Regions from separate parts of the Homo sapiens genome. Here region 1 is linked to region 2. Evidence: promoter capture Hi-C in 16 types of primary human blood cells and fetal thymus (Javierre and others, 2016). All regions are on one chromosome and are shown on one strand. Each heading gives the region's core, a stretch centred on a gene start or on the middle of the fragment in contact. The rest is flanking DNA. Distances are from core to core; before and after follow the strand shown.

The links. Contacts are between HindIII fragments. The CHiCAGO score rates a contact against its expected background, and 5 or more counts as called.
Region 1: a contact is called between a fragment that was not itself captured here and the fragment with the promoter of ZNF597 in region 2, in 6 of 17 cell types (M1 macrophages, total CD8 T cells, naive CD4 T cells and 3 more). The highest score is 6.5, in M1 macrophages.

What each region holds. Positions count from the first base shown.
Region 1 is chr16:3,319,880-3,322,718 of GRCh38, reverse strand. It overlaps a transcript of ZNF75A not described here. Among named protein-coding and RNA genes, the nearest start is that of ZNF75A, 16 kb to the right of the region's middle. The HindIII fragment of the contact is 2,887 bases long and covers 58-2,839 here.
Region 2 is chr16:3,442,246-3,445,094 of GRCh38, reverse strand. ZNF597 (zinc finger protein 597) reads left to right here and starts at 1,591. Exons shown (of 4, transcript NM_152457.3): 1 at 1,591-1,735; 2 at 1,889-1,974. The coding sequence starts at 1,942. It overlaps NAA60 (N-alpha-acetyltransferase 60, NatF catalytic subunit), which reads right to left and starts at 1,415. Exons shown (of 8, transcript NM_001083601.3): 1 at 1,258-1,415. RefSeq lists an enhancer at 1,182-1,331. The HindIII fragment of the contact is 9,083 bases long and covers 547-2,849 here.

The DNA.
Region 1 (2,839 bases), core at 252-2,751, 120 kb after region 2:
CAGTAAGCTTTCTTAGTTTCTCCTAAAAGGTGCATCATATCCAAACACTGTAAAGCTTGATTTTTAATGTCAGCGCTAAGATTGGTGCAACTCAAGATTCATTATCTGAACTGTGGCAGAAATGAAAAGTGATTCAGATAGTTTTCTTAAATCTGAAATGCAATGCAAAAGGTAGCTTGCTTAATTCCTTTCACAGGAGGGATTCAGACTAGGCGAACTGCTTTAGGCAAAGTACACGCATTATCAGATTTGGGTGAATCGTACAGGAGAAAAGCCTTACAGACGCTCGACTGAAGAAGGCATTTCAGTACAGCCCAACTACCATTGCCCAGTGGAGGATTAATACATGAAGGAAACCTAGGCATGTAGCAAATTTGGTTGATGTTTCAAACAGTGCCCTCATCTCGGTCCCCAGTGAACCCACACAAGAAAAAGTGACAGGTGTAGAAAAGATTCAGAAACAAAAGTATGCTTTTTGTTTGGGTGGATTTCTACTGGGACAAACAGTAGAAACGTGAAGTATGGGCAAAACTTTGTTTCCCACTTGAGGGGACTTCAGAGAGTCTACATAGGAGAGAATTCAGTCCACAGAGAATGTGGGGAGAGCTTCAGCAAGTATTTATGCACTAGAAAACCTCCAAGAGAAGAGTAACAGGGCAGCCTTCATCACACATGACAGGGAGGAGTGACCAGGAAATGCTGGAGTAAATGCTTCAGTGGCATGACTCAACAAATATTTGGAAAATCCTTTATGAACTCCCATCTTTTGTTACCAATTGTCCATTTGGATAAAAGAGGCTGCTGGGCGTTCTTCCTCAAACTTACCTGGGAAATTAAACACTGTTCTCAGTAGTTCCAAAAGTTAACAGAAACCCTAGGAGTTTTAGTTTTGAGATTTACTTTGATTCTAAGCCCCTCCTGTTCTTCCCCTCCAGTTAAAAGATATCTGAGGTTGGGCATGGTGGCTCATGCCTGTAATCTCAGTACTTTGGGAGGCCAATGCAGGAGGATCACTTGAGCTTAGGAGTTCAAGATCAGCCTGGGCAACATAGCAAGACCTCATCTCTACTAAAAGTAAAAAAATAATAACCCAGGCATGGTGGCACGTGCCTGGAGTCCCAGATACTCAGAAGGCTGAGGTGGGAGGATTGCTTGAGACTGGGAGATCGAGGCTGTGGTGAGCCCCAGCCTGGGCAACAGAGACCCTTGTCTCAAAAATAAAATATATCTGAGGTTCTCAAGGTGAGCTCAAGGTCCAGTCTGCTTAACGGCAGGGAGAACTCTAGGTCTGGGATGGTCCCAGCACTGAACTTAGACTAGTGCAGGGGACAGGTCAGGAGACTAGACGGGGTCAATGATACAGTTCTCTGAAATAACCGTGAAGCCACGGTAAGGCTGCTATCTGAACATGCTAAAATAAAGCATCCTTCTTGTTTCCTGGAAATCATCTGCCGGTTTATGGAGGACATATTTGTGCATTTAGTACTAATTAGTGCATTTAGTACTAATGTTTAAGGCTAAACCTAGGATTATGTGTCTCTCATTTCATTTTTAAAGCAAGCCTCAATAGATTTTAATATCATGGTTTAAGTAATTTGTTCTCATATCATCTGATATCATTTTAGTAATCCAATCTCATCTCAAGCTACAGAAATCCCTTCTTCCACTCCCCACCCCACAAATTCCAAGGTTGTTATGAGACATCATGTTATGTGCAGCAGCTGGGTACTGGCTAAGCTACGACTTTCCCCCTGGAGGATTCTCACTCCACAGGTGGAACTGTCTTGCTCCTGCCTCCCTGCCCAAGTTTCTCCCCAGTTGTCCGTCATCCCTTAGTCCAGGAAGATAGCCACCTTACTGTCTACACTGATCTGGACAAATTTGCTTTTGCCCTATATCTCATCTGTTTTCTGAGGCACAACTCACTGAAGATACAACAGAGGTAGTTAACAAACCATTCTTTGAAATCTCCTGCATGCATATGAGGAAGGCAATCCCTACCCCCTAACCCCCACCATAGCCCATTCATCAATAGCAATGCCTGTTTTGTGCATGAGGCAACGCGCAGGGAGACAAAGAATAAGGGAAGTGGAATAAGGCCAGATAGGGAAGGAGGGTTGCCTTGTCCCCTTGAACTGACCTCCCATAAGATTTGTCCAAGACAGCAATGTCTTTCTTCCCTATCATCTACAGTCTTGGGAGGTCTTAAGTGGTCCCATTAGTGTTGCATCAGCTCAGTTTAGTATCCACGGGAAGCCAGGTCTCTTTTGAGGGCCAAAGGCTAGGCAGAATGAAAATGGAAAGGTCCAGAGCTCCAGCAAAACAGTCACTCCCCCAGCTGCCCTTTTCCAAGCTCTATTAAGATAGGCCAGGTTGGCCAGGTGCGGTGGCTCACGCCTGTAATCCCGGCACTTTGGGAGGCCGAGGCGGGTGGATCACGAGGTCAGGAGACCAAGACCATCCTGGCTAACAAGGTGAAACCCCATCTCTACTAAAAATACAAAAATTAGCCAGGCGTGGTGGCGGGTACCTGTAGTCCCAGCAACTTGGGAGGCTGAGGCAGGAGAATGGCATGAACCCAGGAGGCGGAGCTTGCAGTGAGCTGACATTGCGCCACTGCACTCCAGCCTGGGCAACAGAGCGAGACTCCGTCTCAAGAAAAAAAAAAAAGATAGGGCAGGTTATGCTACAGAAACACATAGCACCAATGTCTCAGTGATTTAACAGAACAAATGTTTATTTCTTGTTCTCACAAAGTTCACTATAGGTCTGGAGACTCTTGGGAATAGCCGCCCTCCATGCAGTGGCTCAGTGTTCTGGACTGCTTTGATTTCATGGC
Region 2 (2,849 bases), core at 342-2,841:
GCACCTTTACTGGGACTTCACAGCTACCTCTTTTGTGATCCATCCCCACAAGGTCTAGCTCTTAGTTAGCTGTCAAGAGATATCATTTGTGGCAGATACTGCTAGTTTCTTATCTAACTTATTTTCCACATCTCTTTTTTTCATTTGTAACAAAGCCCTAATTTTGTGCAGGTAGATTATCAAGGGAGGCTAGGTCCTTCCCCTAGTGACAGGGGCTGAAGCATGATGGGCCCCAAACAATTATTTATTCTTGGTAATAACTAGTTTAGGATGGGTACATGACACAATACATGTCTGTATATTTTACCTGGATTCTATTGTCAACGTTACCAACATGCTTAGGGTGGCAGAGAAGCACTGGGACCTTGATGTTGTCACTGGGCCACCGAATTAACCAACCTGTAACTGCTCTTTGAACATCCTTTCGGTGGGTTTTCTGTTACTTGTAGCTGAAACTATCCTATCAGATATTCCACAAAATCACATTACCTAAGTTGTCAAATCTCCTAATATTGTTTTAATAACCATGCAGCCATTCATTAAGCTTTTAGATACAGGAATGTGCCTGGCACTGGAATAAGGAAATATGTTGAGACTTTTCAGGCTTTTCTATCAAGGTACCTATCATTTTCGTCTTTTTTTTTCCCCAAACACCTTTATAAACTGGCAATTTCTTTCACTTACATTATCTTATAATCTTTGAAATTACCCTCTGAGTTAGCCCAGAGAGGCACTCTGAGCTGTTTGCAGCTGAGGAAAGCAAAGTTGTAAACTGGCCAAGATTACCAACCAATCAGTGGCAGAGCTTGGGGAGGAGCTCAATTTTCCAATTCCAAATGCCTACACCAGGGCACTCCCTCCTCCCCCAGCACACAATAGGAAATGACTGGCTCTAGGGTAGGCTGCATGTGAGGTATCCGGGGGCGAACAACGTCCTGCGACGCTAACCTATGGCTCTATTCTCGCGTGGGATCCTGTGACTAGGAAGCTGAAGCAGCTCGCTTAGGCTGCAGCTGCGGGTACAATACGTAATGCCTCTATAACACTTTGAGTCAGAGTCCAGCAACCTGGCCTACACCGATGTGAACGTTGTGAACGTACACAAAGATACTCCTTCATGTTCCACGGCCCCACCATCCGCTCAAGACACAAAGGACAGCTCAAGCCCAGGCTAGGCCCGAACCCCCGCCCTCTCAATCACCTTGCTCTGGCCAGACCGAAATTTCAGGCCTACAGGGCACTGTTGGCCGAACCCACATTTTGTTACCGATTTTCTTTCGAGTTCCGGTGTCTCCCAGTCTTCTTTCTGTCCTTCTTCTCGGAAACATTACGTCCCCCTGGGGTCACCCTAAGACTCTACTTCAGCAGGCAAACAGGCCCGGAGCTCACGGAGGAGACCCCGCCAGCGGAAGCGGAAATGGTTGCTTAGAGAAAAGGAGGAAAACTACCTCTCGCAGCTGCCCAGTGGCTACAGGTCCTCGGTTAAGGTGTTCAATTGGTCAACACAAAAGAAGGACTTCCCCTTCGGGAGAACTTCGACCAATCAAAGGGCAGGATGGCGGAGAGGGCTGAGGGCGGGTCGCTTCCGGCGGCTTTTCCCGCAGCTCCTGCGTAAAGGAGCATGAGAGCGTGGGAGTTTTGCAGTGGCCGTGGCGTTCTTCGTCGCGTCTCGGTCGGGCGTCGCTTTCTGCAGCTCCTGTCAGGGAGCGCGAGGCCTGTTATTAACCGCGGAGCGGTAAGTGGGCCCCTTTCGAGGCCGGGCCAAGAGGAGGAGCAGTCGGCGTAGGTTTTTAAGGGGGGGTTCGGAGGGAATCGAGGGAGGCTAGGGGTAGTGGAGGAACTTGGCAGCGGAATTGGTCCCTTTAAGAACTGTTCTCTCCCCCCGCAGCTTTGTCACGAAGTCCCTGTGGCGTCTTGAAGAAGGCATTCCCCACCCGCCAAATGGCGTCCATGCCCCCGACGCCCGAGGCCCAGGTGAGTCGAGGTACCTTTTTCGTCCAAGTTTATTGCTGCTTTCGGTCTCTGCCTGACCCCCTCCTTTGGAGGAGAGTTGGGCATGCCTGTTGTGGTAGGAGTGCTCCTGAGCCCCAAATAGCCCTTTGACCAAGTGTTCTTCGTTCCAAGACCACACACATAATGGTTTACCAACTTCCTTCTTTCAGAACTACCAACTGGGAGCAGGGACCTGTGGAGGAATCTCTGAGAGAGTTTCTCAATGTCTTATCTGTTTGTTTTGTTTTGTTTGGAGATAGGGTCTGGCCTTGTCGCTGGAGTGTTGCTTGTCTGGCTGGAGTGCAGTGCTGATATCATAGCTCCGTCTGGAACTCAGGGAATCCTTACGCCTCAGCCTCTCGAGTATCTGAGAGGCGCGCATACCACAGTGTCTGGCTACTTTTAAAAGTTCTTTTTTTTTTTTTTTTGATACAGAGTCTCGCTCTGTCGCCCAGGCTGGAGTGCAGTGGCGCGATCTCGGCTCACTGCAAGCTCCGCCTCCCGGGTTCATGCCATTCTCCTGCCTCAGCCTCCCGAGTAGATGGGACTACAGGCGCCTGCCGCCACGCCCTGCTAATTTTTTGTATTTTTAGTAGAGACGGGGTTTCACCGTGTTAGCCAGGATGGTCTCAATCTCCTGACCTTGTGATCCGCCCGCCTCGGTCTCCCAAAGTGCTGGAATTACAGGTGTGAGCCACTGCGCCCGGCCTAAAACTTCTTTATGGAGATGGAGTCTTGCTGCTTTGCCAAGGAACTCCTGGCCTTCAGCTATCCTCCCACCTCGGCTCCCCAAAGTGCTAGGATTAAAAGTGACTTTCTGGAATGGTTCCCAAAATTACAGATTTGGTACTTCTCCA